2 separate regions of the Homo sapiens genome follow, and region 1 is linked to region 2. Evidence: promoter capture Hi-C in 16 types of primary human blood cells and fetal thymus (Javierre and others, 2016). All regions are on one chromosome and are shown on one strand. The core of a region is centred on a gene start or on the middle of the fragment in contact, and the rest is flanking DNA. Distances in the headings are between cores, read along the strand shown.

Region 1 (3,481 bases), core at 344-2,843, 400 kb after region 2:
AAGGAGACACCATCCCAGGCCCAGGAATGACATGTTCTACATATTTCAACACTGCAATGTTCTACACACTTGAAATGCCGAAATGGAAGCGTGCCTGGATTTCCTCAGTCTCAGATCAAGCCATTCAATCGTGAAGGGAAACAAAAATGTAAAACTGGCTTTTGATTTTTTTTTTTTAATCTTACTTTAGCCAGGCACAGTGGCACACACCTGTAATCCCAGCACTTTGGGAGGCCAAGGTGAGTGGATCACCTGAGGTCAGGAGTTTGAGACCAGACTGACCAACATGGTGAAACCTTGTCTCTACTAAAAATACAAAAATTAACCAGGTGTGGTGGCGGGCCCCTGTAATCCCAGCTACTCAGGAGGCTGAGGCAGAAGATCCACTTGAACCTGGGAGATGAAGTTTGCACTGAACAGAGATCACACCACTGCACTCCAGCCTGAGCAACAGAGCGAGACTCCACCTCAAAAAAAAAAAAAAAAAAATCTTACTTTATTAGAAAGTATAGGCCAGCCGTGGTGGCTCACGCTTGTAATCCCAGCACTTTGGAAGGCTAAGGTGGGTGGATCACCTGAGGTCAGGAATTCGAGACCAGCCTGCCAACATGGTGAAACCCCATCTCTACTAAAAATACAAAAATTACCTGGGTGTAGTGGCGCATGCCTGTAGTCCCAGCTACTCAGGAGGCTGAGGCAAGAGAATCGCTTGAACCTGGGAGGTGGAGGTTGCAGTGAGCTGAGATCATGCCACTGCACTCCAGACTGGGCAACAGAGCAAGACTCTCTTTCCAGAAAAAAAAAAGAAAAAAAAGGGAAGAGTAAATAATATAACAAGCATGTCATACCCACAACCCAGTGGAGGTAACAAAATATCACAGGCCGGGCGCAGTGGCTCATACCTGTAATCCCAGCACTTTGGGAGGCCAAGGTGGGTGGATCATTTGAGCCCTGGGGTTTGAGACCACCCTGGGCAACATGGTGAAACCTCATCTTTACTAAAGATACAAAAGTCAGCCGGGCCTGGTGGCGTGTGCCTGTAGTCCCAGCTACTCAGGAGGCTGAGGTGGGAGGATCACCTGAGCCCAGGGAGTCTGAGGCTACAGTGAGCCAAGACTGCCCCACTGCATTTCATCCTAGGCAACAAAGCAATACCCCACCTCAAAAAATAAAGTAAAATAAAATAAAACATCATAAACACCGGTGAGTCTTGCCCTCCTCAGCTAACCACAACCCTGACTTTAACATTTATCATTCCTACAAGCTTCTACTTACTATGTATTTCCGTGTCCCTAAATAATACATAATGCCATCTCACAGGTTTTAAAACTTTACACAGATGGTCTCTGAGGCCCTACAGCCACTGGCAAGCTGCCTTCCATCCCTGCTGTCTGTACCTGCAACGCCTGGAGCATCCCTTGAGTTCAGCTCTCATTCTTTCCTTCCGACTGCCCTGCAGCAGCCTCTGACCACCACGGCTCACTGAGCCATTCTCTTGTTGGAGGAAGGCAGTGTCTTGCTACCATGGACAGGACTCTTGTGCACCCCTTTGTACCTATCGCCTGCTAGGCTTGTGTGGGTTTTTCTCAGGTGTACACATAGGAGGGCAATTGCCAGTAGAAGGCATTGTCTTCATTAATGTTTCCACCATCTCAGAAAACCAAGGTTTGCCCCTGTATACAGTATGTAAAATTGTAACTTTCACACTCACTGCCTCATCAACAATCTTATCATAAAAACACAAGATGTTTCCTGTATTTTTATGTGACCTGTATTTCTAACTTGTTAGCATGTTGAAGAAGTTGTCTTCTCTCCACACAAGGCACAGAATCTTGAAGGTAACAAACAGCTAAAAACCACATCTAGGTGGCCACTGTGCCCCTCAGAAACATGAATGGCGAGACATGTTCCTGTGAAGCTTTGATTACATGGGAGCAGCCTCAGCCACACCCACCCGAAGAGAGGAAAGGCCCAACAGAAGCTGTGCGGGGCAGGGCACCTACCCTGAACGTAATGAAAATTTCCCTTTTTCCCACAGGCATCCTCACGGTCTGGCCATCCTCGACTCCTACAAGGGACATTAGAAAGGGAGAAGTTAGGCAGGACGCGGTGGCTCACGCCTGTAATCCCAGCACTTTGGGAGGCCGAGGCGGGCAGATCATGACGTCAAGAGATCGAGACCATCCTGGCCAACATGGTGAAACCTGGTCTCTACTAAAAATTAACTGGGCGTGGTGGCACACGCCTGTAGTCCCAGCTACTCAGGAGGCTGAGGAAAGAGAATCGCTTGAACCCAGGAGGCGGAGGTTGCAGTGAGCCGAGATCACTCCACTACACGCCAGCCTGGCAACAGAGCGAGACTCCGTCTTAAAAAAAAAAAAAAAAAGAAAAGAAAAAGAAAAAAAAGAAAGGGAGCAGTTATTGTGAGACCTCCCACAGCACTTTCCACCCAAGATCCACTTGTAACCCACAGCTTCTTCCCCACTCCTGTTTCTTATTAACGAGGAACAATGTCATTATCTAAGAGGCACATGGGTAACCTTCCAGAGATGCAACACAGACACCTGATGACTGAGCACCTGCCTCAGGCTTGGTCTAGGCAGTACCTCAGGGAGTTCATGGTCTCACTGGGGTGATGGGTGTTAACCAAACGATAGCACTAATGCATAACTACAAACAGAGACATGCTCTTCAATGGAAATGCTCACAACTCTAGAGAAACAGACATCTAAACAACAGTAAAGCAGGCCACGCGCGGTGGCTCATGACTATAATCTCAGCACTTTGGGAAGCCGAGGCGGGTGGATCACGAGGTCAGGAGATCGAGACCATCCTGGCTAACACGATGAAACCCCGTCTCTACTAAAAATACAAAAAATTAGCTGGGTGTGGTGGCAGGTGCCTGTAGTCCCAGCTCCTTGGGAGGCTGAGGCAGGAGAATGGCATGAGCCTGGGAGGCAGAGCTTGCAGTGGGCCGAGATCGGGCCACTGCGCTCCAGCCTGGGTGACAGAGCGAGACTCCGTCTCAAAAAAGAAAAAAAAAAGAACAGGGAGGAGGGTGTGAGGCTAGCTAGGGAAGGGATACTCAAGCTGGGATCTCCAAGATGAATAAAGTTAACCGAAAAAAGAAAGCAGAAAGTGAGTTTTGGGCAAGGGAACAGTAGACATGGAGTGAGGGGTGGGATCCGTGGGGCTGATGTAGATAGGGTGGCAGCAGGGACAATGATGGCTTCGGTGACTAAGACAGGGGAGAGAGGAGAGGAGCCCGGGGGTTGGAAGCTGCTCCCTCACCAGGAAGAAGCAGAGTAGGCACGTCAGGTCTCTTCTCCCCATTGTGACATGCAAAGTGTAAATTTTAAGGATAACTGGCAGAAACAGAAAGATTCAAGGAGACTCCAGTTCCTCCTCCAGCCTGGGGCTCCAGGGCCTCAACCATAACTTCTACCAAGAGCCCACTCACACTCAGTGCAGTGGCCTCGGC
Region 2 (3,944 bases), core at 631-3,130:
GGAATGCCTCTAGGTTTTGGTGCAATGTTCATTTGAGATTTTTTTTTCTTTTTTCTTTTTGGCGGGGGGACGAGTCTCGCTCGCTCTGTCGCCTAGCTGGAGTGCAGTGACATAATCTCGGCTCACGGCAACCTCCGCTTCCCGGGTTAAGCGATTCTCCTGCCTCAGCCTCCCAAGTAGCTGGGACTACAGGCATGCGCCACCACGCCCGGCTAATTTTGTATTTTTAGTAGAGTACTGGGTTTGACCGTGTTGGCCAGGCTGGTCTCGAACTCCTGATCTCAGGTGGTCCACCCGCCTCGGCATCCCAAAATGCTGGGATTACAGGCTTATACCACCCTGCCCGGCCAAGATTCATGTTTTTATTTAAGTTATTAAAATCTCATTCAATTCCTCACAAATTCAGAATTTTTAAACAGGAACTTATGTTAAATTTTTATCAAATTATTCCCTGGAATCTTAAATACGCTTTAAAGATCACTTTGTCTTAAAAATACACACGCAGTAAATGACAGTCCGTGCAGCTAATTCTTGGTACTTCAGGGAAACTGATCTCCCAAGAAAAATCAGGCTGCGGGACGACCCAGTACGCTAAACACCGACTTGCAACCGAAATCTCTAACCACCACAATGCCTTGGGGAAATGCGTGTCGACTCGCCACCTTTGCCAGCTGGCAGTGACTCAACAAGAGCCCGACACCAAGTCTAAGTCAATCCTTAACACTGTGGAGTCTGTGATCGGGACTGGGATCTTTTGCAAAATTGTGATTCTACCTGGTCTGCTGAAGTTTGGGCCGACGCTGCGCTCAACTGCAGTTAACACTTCCCAGTTCATGGTTCAGTTTTAAAGTGTCCAAACTACGCCCGGCATCTGTCTTCCTGTTGTCACAACTTTTTCAAAAGTGCAAAACTAGGGCAAGGCTAACGAGAGAGCCCGGACCCGACAACGACACGCACCTTTGTCCCCAGCGCCGACGCGGGCCGCAGACGTCCCCCCGCGGCGGTCCTCATGCCGGTCCCCGGGCGGCGGCGCAGCTAGCGGTCGGCTGCTAAGCCGTGGCTCCCAGCGGGCGGGCGGCCCGCGCCTCGGCCCATGGCCGGGTCCCCGAGCCCAGGGGAGCCTGGTGTGCCGCGCCGCGCGCCGGCCCAGGAGGAAGCGAAGAAATGCCAACTCGACGTCCGCGCAGCCACTCCGGGGACACCAGGGGGTCGGGGGAGCAGCCTCCGGTCGCCCCAGGAGAACTTGCGGCGCGGGACCCCGCGCTCAGACGGCGCCTCCGAAAGCGGCCGTCGGGAGGAGCGCTCCAAAGAACACGGGCGGCGGGAGCGGACGGGCGCGGACACCGGGGCCTCCCGGCCTGCGGCCAAGCAGAGTTGCCGGGCGCGGGAGCCCAGACCCGGCGGAGGCTGAGTTCCAGGCCGCGCCGAGCTCCGTCAGGGTAGCTCACTGGCGCTGCGACGGGGCCGACCAGCGCCTCGGGCTCGGGAATGGCCCCGGGGCCCGCGCCGGACCAACGGGCGTAACGGAAGCGCCGAGAGGGGAGGGGCGCGGAGTCCAAGACCCGGGGGCGGGGCGAGCCGCGAGGCCGGCTCCCTCTCGCGCTCAGCCGGTCGCACCGTCGCCGCCGCCGCCGCCTCAGACCGCGGGCGCTTCGTTGTCACGAGCCGAAGGGAGGGGGAAGGAGCCGGGAGTCTCTGCGCTCCGGCGCGCGGAGACCGCGGCGCTCGCGTCACGTGCCCCTCGGTCGACCAATGATCCCCGGCGGGCGCGGTGACGTCAGAGTAGCGGCGTGGCCAGTGACAGCCGGCCCCCGTCACGTGGTCGGGCCCACTCCAATGGGCGGCGCCGGGGCGACTTGCTGTTCCCGGCGGCCCGTGCGTCGGCGGTGGTTGGGTGGTAAGATGGCGGCTGTGAGTCTGCGGCTCGGCGACTTGGTGTGGTGAGTCCGAGCGGCCGGGCCAACCGAGACGCGCCGGGGAGCTACCCGCCTGGGCGCGGGGTTCGCTGCCGGCCCTGGAGCTGCCTTTTTATGCGCTCCAGGTCGCGGAGAGAGGGGAAGAGAAGGTGCCGGCGCTTGCGAGCGGCGCCAGGCGGAAGGGGCAGTCCAGTCCCGGGGGACCGAGGCCGAGGGTGGCCACGTCGGGCACCGGCTTTGATCCCCGAGGCCGGCCGGGTGGGGTCTGCACTCGGGGCCCAGATACTGGCGGCCCCCGTGAAGGGAGCCGCCGGTGCCGCGAGGCTTCCCCGGACGACCGGTCCCCGGGGTCTTGTTGGGGCTTCCCAGAAAGCAGAAGCGCCGGGGACCGGACCTGCGAGATCTGGCCGGTGCCATTCGGTCAAAGCCCAGGTTGCGATGCAGCCGACCTGTGCGGCCGGCTCAGCCGGGGTTGTCTAAACCGGACTGCTGGCGTTGCCCCGCGAAGAAACGGCGGGGGGACTTCTCCTTTACAACCGATGGCTTGGCAGTGACCAGTGCACGCTTGGGTGCCTCCCGCGGTCTGCTTCTGTGTCCCAGACAACCGCCCGAACCAAGACTTTGTCGCCGCCTCCCTCGAGCTGCGTAGCTTGTTTCTCCACCCAGAGGAAGGCTTCCATTAGCATTTGTCAAAGCCAGGCAGGTCTCCTGTTGAATTAAACCAGACTTAGGGAGGGAAAGTCTGTGTTTACAGAGGAAGCTGTCCTCCCACCCCCGTCATTAAGAAGCTCTAGACAAGTGACTTTTGACAGTTGTGTTGTTCTGTATTCCTTGTCAACAGAAGAATGGATATGCGTTGTGCACATAAGTATACAATTTTGCATTTTACTTCTGAGGGTGTTGGGCCCAGCTATGAAAGCTTTTGTTTCGGCATTTGAGGATGCCAGCAGAGATTTAGGAAAATAAATTGCGTATTGAGTGGGTTGAAGGAGATGGACTGGCTTTTGCAGGGCAAGTGTTGACTCTTTGTGTTTTCTCTAGGGGGAAACTCGGCCGATATCCTCCTTGGCCAGGAAAGGTGAGTGTCTTGCTACTAAAGGAAGAGATCTGAAGTTGGGTTTGAAGAGGTGGAGAATGTAAGATGCATTCCTCTCAGTTTCTAGTATTGAGTTAAATTGGGCTCATTCAGATGGCACTTAGAATTTTTTTTCCCCTAGTATCGGTTATTTTTTAAAAGGCAATGCAGTATACACCAGATCATTAAATCTTCTCTAAACCCTTATTTCTGGATTTAGAGGAGGTTTATGAAGTTTCTTTTTTAACCCCGGAAATAATTCTAGTCTGAATTTAGCTTTATGCTTAAATGTAACAAAAGGAGAAGAAAATATAAATTATCCAGGAAGAAAGTCTAAATGTAGGTTAGTGAAAAGCCAAAGTATTTTTGTCCCAACTAAGTTTAAATCTTCTTTCCATGTTACCATATGTGCTACTCCAGTGCCTCTTTGCAGAAGTTGGCATTCCAGATTTTGCATGAGGTGATCCATCATTGCTTTCCAAATGTTGTGTTTTTATATTCTTGCTTGGAGCCCGGGAGGTGTCTTTAGATGGTCTCTTTGCAATATGGTGTTTTCTGTGCCTCGGTTGTCCTTTGTTTTCACTATGTCCTGTGTCAACCCTTCCTGCACAGGAAGTATTTCAAAGAGTGTCGTCTGCATTTTTTCAGTAATAATGGGGTCACATTGGAGCAGGGGTGGGGTGGTGGGGGGCAGGGGATGCTGTTGATCTTAGTTTTAACTGCTTGTAAAACAGGGCCACTGCAGTAAAAGGGATATTGTGTCTACTGAGCACTGTGCTACATGTTAAATATTGGGAACTTCTAGAATATCTACACATTTCCATACACCTCAATAGAAAAATGGGAGATTTAGACAAGTACTAGGCCTTGGGTTCTGTTTTGTATATAAATAAATTTATTTGTAAGTAAGTCCTTTTAATTTACTTTTTTCTTAGCAACGTAGAACTGTAGAG

What was found. Contacts are between HindIII fragments. The CHiCAGO score rates a contact against its expected background, and 5 or more counts as called.
Region 1: a fragment that was not itself captured here is called in contact with the fragment with the promoter of GLYR1 in region 2 in 4 of 17 cell types (erythroblasts, M2 macrophages, M1 macrophages and 1 more); the score reaches 9.0 in erythroblasts.

The regions. Positions count from the first base shown.
Region 1 is chr16:4,443,251-4,446,731 of GRCh38, reverse strand. It overlaps DNAJA3 (DnaJ heat shock protein family (Hsp40) member A3), which reads right to left. Exons shown (of 12, transcript NM_005147.6): 7 at 2,004-2,068. Among named protein-coding and RNA genes, the nearest start is that of DNAJA3, 19 kb to the right of the region's middle. The HindIII fragment of the contact is 654 bases long and covers 1,267-1,920 here.
Region 2 is chr16:4,845,224-4,849,167 of GRCh38, reverse strand. GLYR1 (glyoxylate reductase 1 homolog) reads left to right here and starts at 1,880. Exons shown (of 16, transcript NM_032569.4): 1 at 1,880-1,940; 2 at 2,958-2,994. The coding sequence starts at 1,903. UBN1 (ubinuclein 1) reads right to left here and starts at 1,687. Exons shown (of 18, transcript NM_001079514.3): 1 at 958-1,687. RefSeq lists silencers at 1,007-1,096, 1,107-1,826 and enhancers at 879-1,721, 2,017-2,076, 2,377-2,436. The HindIII fragment of the contact is 6,120 bases long and covers 1-2,837 here.